Linked DNA regions of Homo sapiens: region 1 is linked to region 2. Evidence: promoter capture Hi-C in human tissues and cell types (Jung and others, 2019). All regions are on one chromosome and are shown on one strand. The core of a region is centred on a gene start or on the middle of the fragment in contact, and the rest is flanking DNA. Distances in the headings are between cores, read along the strand shown. Region 1 holds the start of EXTL1 (exostosin like glycosyltransferase 1). Region 2 overlaps AUNIP (aurora kinase A and ninein interacting protein).

What was found. The method cuts DNA at HindIII sites, captures the fragments that hold promoters and counts their contacts. A contact is called where the count stands out against the background at its distance.
Region 1: a contact is called between the fragment with the promoter of EXTL1 here and a fragment that was not itself captured in region 2, in 2 of the 25 tissues and cell types used here (bladder and lymphoblastoid cells).

The regions. Positions count from the first base shown.
Region 1 is chr1:26,020,121-26,023,067 of GRCh38, reverse strand. EXTL1 (exostosin like glycosyltransferase 1) reads right to left here and starts at 1,293. Exons shown (of 11, transcript NM_004455.3): 1 at 1-1,293. The coding sequence starts at 421. The HindIII fragment of the contact is 12,554 bases long and covers 282-2,947 here.
Region 2 is chr1:25,835,762-25,838,956 of GRCh38, reverse strand. AUNIP (aurora kinase A and ninein interacting protein) reads left to right here. Exons shown (of 3, transcript NM_024037.3): 2 at 1,403-1,544; 3 at 3,111-3,195. Among named protein-coding and RNA genes, the nearest start is that of MTFR1L, 17 kb to the right of the region's middle. The HindIII fragment of the contact is 4,972 bases long and covers 1-3,195 here.

The sequences.
Region 1 (2,947 bases), core at 44-2,543, 180 kb before region 2:
CGTCCAGGCTGAGGAGGAGGAGGAGGCAGGCCCCAGCAGGGCTGAATGTGTAGAAGCGAGAGCCCTCAATGGAAGCCAGGATCCTGCGATGAGTCTCAGAGATGGTTCCAACCGCTGGGTACACGAATACCTTAAGGCCATCGCCCCTGCACTTTGAGGTATCAAAGCAAGATTCCCAGTTGCAGCTGCCACCATGAGGGGCTTGAGGAGGTGAAACGGCATCTTCTGGGAGCTCTCCAGGCTGGGAGAAGCTCTGCAGGAGCTCTGCATCCAGCCAGCGGGGCCAGCCTTGGGAAGCCCCGGGCCGAGGTCTGGGAGGCAATGCCAGGCGGAGAAGGGAGAAGCCTCCCAGCAGGACAAGCAGGAGCCAGGAGGCTGACAGTGCCAGCCACAGGGACTTTCTTCTCCTCCACGACTGCATGTGGCCACCCACAGTCAGGGCTAGGGAAGCTGGGAGGCCTCTGCCAGCAAGCAGGAAGAGCAGGGCCTGGGGCGGGAGACCAGAGCTGGGACCGACCTGCTAGTCCTGTGCTGTCATTGTACAGATGGGAAGACTGAGGCCCATCGAGACCAGGCCGCCTGTCTAAGGTCAGATAGTGAGTCACCAGCCAGGCAGGAGGAGGCCAGGTGGGACCCAGCTTGCTGGCCTGGCCCCCCTGCTCTCAGGACTCTGCCTTCTCGGCCTTTGGACAACCAAGCCAGCCTTTTCCCTCCCAGCAGGGACCCCTGCCCCTGGGCACTGCTCTGGCTGACGCAACCCCTGTCCAGAATGCAGGGCCGTGTCCCCCTGCCCTCCTGGCTGCACCCCTTGACCTTGCCCTCAACTGAGAGGAGGGCTGTCTGCCAGGCCATGGGGACCAGTCAGAGCTCCCACAGGAGGCGGCTTGGCCAGGGACAGGCTGGAGGGAGCTGGGCTGGTCTTCCCACTCCTCCCCTTGCCTGAGCAGCCCTGGCTGCCCCTGTGCCCGCTGGCAGACGCTTCTGGGCTGTGGCCCCTGTGGCTGGAGCTAAAATTAGACCCTGCATCCCATGTGGATCATCGGCGTCAGCTGAGGTCACAGCCTGGGTGCAGCCGGTGTCCCCCTGCCTTGGAGGGCCAGGAGGGCTCGGGGTCCTGATCCTTATCCACTCTGCCGCTGCACCAGCTCAGGAAGTGCAGCCCCTCTTCCCCGCAGCCCAGCAGCTGCCTTGCACCATCTGGCTTGGAGCTATCACAGTGCAGAGGCCAGGGCCGCTGTGCCAAGCCCCCCAAACCCTATGGTATCTCCTCCCATCCCTCTCCAGTCGGCAACTGGCCCATCCTGATCTCTTTCCTTAGCAGCAGCCTGGCTCCTCCCCTCCCAGCCCTGATTCGCTCCTGGCTGGGAGGCAGGGTCTCCATTTAACCCCTTCCAAACCAGTTTCCTCAATTGCTAATCCAACCAGCAAGTACTGCAACTCACAGCTGGCCATGAGTTATCACAGCCTCTGTCTCTCAGTCCTCCAGCCACCCTCCAAGGCAGAGATTTACCTGTCATTTCTTACAGATGAGGAAAGCTCAGAGAGGGGATGAACTCTTCCTAAGGTGACCCAGCTAAGAAGTGGCAGGGTGGGGATTTCAATCCTGAGCTCCTGGTCGTTGGTCACCCCAGCTGTGGGCCCTGTGGCTGGAGAAAAACTAGACCCTGCACCTGCTGTGGGCCATCAGAGTCAGTGGAGGTCAGAGCCTGAGTGTGAGGAATCTCTGAATCGGCACATGAGAAGGTCAACAGGTGAGACAAGTGAGGAGTTAAGGGGCGGGGGTGGAGGAATTGGGTAAGGTGCCCCCAACTGTCCCCAGGATTGGTCTCTCCTCCTTCAGCAGCCCCACCCCCAATCTCCTCCAATTCCCAGCCTTTTGCTCCAGTCCTTATGGAAAGTTCTTCCTGCACTTGACTCTTCCATAGTCCAGGCCCCATGGAGGGATTTCCCCGGTCAGTGCCCTGTGAGGGGAGTCAGGAGTGGGTGATGTCAGCCACTGAGGAATCTCTGGGGTGACGGGGGAGACACACTCTGGCCATGAGGAGTTCTGGGCTGATGAGGGAAGGCACAGGGAGTGGACAGACTTGAGTGGGTTCTGCCTCTTCCCCTGACTGCCTCGGGGGTGTTGGGCCTCTGTCCCCTTATCTCTGGGATGGGCATAATGTCAGCCAGGAATGGGTTGCCAGGTTGACGCAGGCCTGTCCCCTGAGGTCCCTCAACAAGTGGTGGCCTCCTTTCCCCTGCGTGCCTCCCCTTGATCTTGGAGGGCTGCTGATCAGACCAGGGAGCCACCGTGGGATGTTTTGCCCTCAGTGAGCAGCCAGTGTGAGAGTCCTAAAAATGGCCCACAAAGGGGACACTTGCCTCTTGGCACTAATGGCTCAGCCACTCGGTGATGAACTGCAGTTCCTGCATAACTCAGTCCTCCCACACTGAGAGGCATCCACAAAGGCCACTGGCTGCTTCGCACGCCCCCCCTTTCACTGTGCCCAGCCAACTCCTCATCCTGCAGGAGTCAGCTGAAAGCTCCCTCCCCACAAGAAGCTTCTCCAATGCTCCGCAGGCTGGGTTAGAGCCCCCGTCTAGGTCCTCATGTCATTCCTTCATCCCTCTATCCCCATACACAGTCATCCATTCATCTAACAAACACTTATGAGTGTTGAATATGGGCCAGGTTCTGAGCTAGGCCAGGAACACAACCCTGAGTAAGAGTAATCATAGCTGACACTCGTATTGCACTTACAGCGTGCCAAGCATCCCTCTTTTGTATCAGCTTGTTTCATCCTTTCCCCAACCCTAGGAGGGAGAAACTGTGATGATCCACATTTTACAGTTGGGAAAACTGAGGCCGAGGGAGCTTAAGTAATTTGCCTGAATTCTCACGGCTTAGCCAGGACTTGGACCCAGGTAGTGTGCTCCTATATCCGCTGCACCATTCCAGCTCCCA
Region 2 (3,195 bases), core at 589-3,088:
CAAATGTAAAAATGAAGTCAACTTTGAGTTAGAATAAATAACTCGGCTTCAAGATTCAGGCCTACCTCTAACTTGCTGCATGAATAGTGGCAAATCTTACTTGTTTTTTGGCAGACACAGCAAAATTGAATTGAATATAATCCTATTTGCCCTACTTCTCAGGCATTCTTTAACAAGCAAATGGAAATAAAAACAAATCACATTAAATAAGGATGAGGTTATATTTATAGTTAGTTGACAACTCACTTTTCAAACCTCTCTTGCCTATCTTCCAGTTCCATTCTCTAAAGAATAAAAGCGCCTGAGTTAAAAGTGTAGTGAGACTGGTGCTGTTCCACTGCTCCTCCTCTTAATATTAGCCAACTGCTACTGAATGTTTTCTATGTGCCGGGAACTGTGTAAGCCTTTTATGTGAATAAATTTACTAAATTTTCTTTTTTCCTTTTTTTTTTTTGAAACGGAGTCTTGCTCTGTCGCCCAGGCTGGAGTGCAGTGGCACAATCTCGGCTCATTGCAACCTCCGCCTCCCTGGTTAAAGCGATTCTTCTGCCTCAGCCTCCCAAGTAGCTGGGGCTACAGGCGCTTGCCACCACGCCTGGCTAATTTTTGTATTTTTAGTAGAGACAGGGTTTCACCATATTGGCCAGGCTGGTCTTGAACTCCTGACCTCGTGATCCACCCGCCTCGGCCTCCCAAAGTGTTGGGATTACAGGTGTGAGCCACCACGCCTGGCCTTACTAAATTTTCATAACTGCCATATGGATAGGTACTATTATTGTCATTTGACACCTAAGAATGAGATTAAGCAACTTGGAGAAGGTCACATAGCAAAGTGGCAGTGGCAGAACTAGGACTGATTTTTTTTTTTTTTTGTATTTTTAGTAGAGACGGGGTTTCGCCATGTTGGTCAGGCTAGTCTCGAACTCCTGACCTCCTTATCTGCCCGCCTCAGCCTCCCAAAGTGCTGGGATTACAGGCGTGAGCCACCGCGCCCGGCCAAGGACTGATTCTTGAGCCATGCTCTTAACCACCACTATGTGACTACTTTAAAACTACTGAAAATGCATCAACTGCTGCTGTAGAATCATTAATTATCCTTAAATATAAAAGAGCATCATCTCTGCCATCCTGTTAACAAATCCTGTTTGTTTAGTCAGCCTGATTTCCATGGGGAAGCAGAAAGATTGGGCTATCATTGGAATATGTGATTCCTGAGAAAAACACCGTTACAATGGCTGGAAATGGAAGATGATGTCCAGCACCAACTACCTTGAGAATAGGCTATAAGTGGAGTACAGAGGATCTAGTGTGGTTCTCAGAGGATCACTGGTGTGTACTGAATCTCTACTGTATGTCTTTTAATATTAATAGGCTCATTATTCTTTTTTCTCTCCTTTCTCAGACACATTTAATCAAACCAGGCACCAAAATGCTAACACTCCTTCCTGGAGAAAGAAAGGCTAATATTTATTTTACTCAAAGAAGAGCTCCATCTACAGGCATTCACCAGAGAAGCATTGCTTCCTTCTTCACCTTGCAGCCAGGTATGGTGACCCATATGGGAATACTTCATTATCCAGAGCAAAAAAGGAGTGTGTTCATTTGTCCATGTTAGACCATTTATGAGAAATGGTGAAACCAGTGCATTGTGTTAAACTTAGCCTGTTAGAAGAGGTTATAAAACATAAGTTGTTGCCTTTTGAAAAGCAATATATGTGTACTTTTACAAACATACTTTTCTGGTTCTGTTTTGCTCAGCTTAATATTAAATATTTGTATTTGCTGACAGAGCAGTCAGGAAGGGTGTACTTGGGAGTTGGAGGTGCACTGGGGAGTTGCCCTGCCATTAGTTAGGTGGTATATATCTTGGGTTGGCCACAGTGGGTACTCTGTCTAAGGTTAATTAATAATTGATACTTTTGTGTGACGCTTCTCAAATTAGTGAAAGGTTCAAAGATGCTTTTTCTTAGCCTCACATAAAGTTGGCTTATGTCTCTTCCTTTGGCTGTTCTTTGCTTCCAGGTCCCTGTTCAGGGGAGCAGCTGACTCAGAGCAGGCTGGGCCTTAAACAGCAGGGTTCCTGCCACTTGGAGGGTGTTGGGAAGAGTGCTCTAATGCCGGGTGTGATTCTCAGGATTGCTTTGCCTAAACCTTCAAAATGCCCTCTCCCTCCTCCAAACAAAAACGTACACTCTTTTGCTTTATGTAAGGGCAGATTTAAAAAAAACAAACAAAAAACCCACTTTTTCCACTTACAAATTCTGGTGTATTTTATAGTCTATATTGAATGCTAAGGAAAAGTTGAGAATTCTCACAAAACCTAGTTTCTGCAGTATAATTCTTATTGTAGAAGGAAAGAGGAAATCAGTTATTCTGCTTTGTTTTTATAATTAGATCTTGGAACAATTTGAGCCAAGTTGGGAATTCCATGTCCTCCATCCTTATCTTAAGGCAGAACAGAATCCACTCTATGCCTGATAAAATTAACAGGCTGGACACTAGTAGTTGTTTCACTATTCTACCTACTGATTGACTTAGCATCCTAATTGTGTCTTCACTCCCTTTCCAATGAAATGCCTGGGGAGTGGAGGACCCACGTTTTTCACACTGTCACCAGAAGGTTTCTCAGAGTTGGATAGTTAATGTCATCTTTAAGACCTTACAAAACTAGTATGTGTTTAGCATGTTTCTTTAAGGATAATGTCTAGGAATGTATATTTGACCAGGATCACCATTTAGTAAAAAACCACATTAAATAAAAAACAAAAGCAAAACTGATGTGCCGTATGTTAAACAAACCTACAAATGAAAACTCAGCTGGTAAAGTAGGCTATGGTCTGATCGTATGCGATGTTTGACTTTATTAGGTAGGTGATGGGAAGTATCCATGTATTTGAGTAGGGAATATAAGATCTGATGTTTTAGAGTTTATTCATGATAGACTGGCAAGATTGAAAACAGGAAGATTGGCTACAAAGTTATGTGAAGAGTCTTAAGACTCCTGCACTAGGTAGTAATAGTAGCTGATACTGATTTCAGAAAAAGCCAACTGAATCCTGCTTAGGGCAGTTTTTCTGCAGAATAATATTTGTTCATTCCTGTTTTATTAGGAAAGACAAATGGCAGTGACCAGAAGAGTGTTTCATCTCATACAGAAAGTCAGATCAACAAAGAGTCCAAGAAAAATGCGACCCA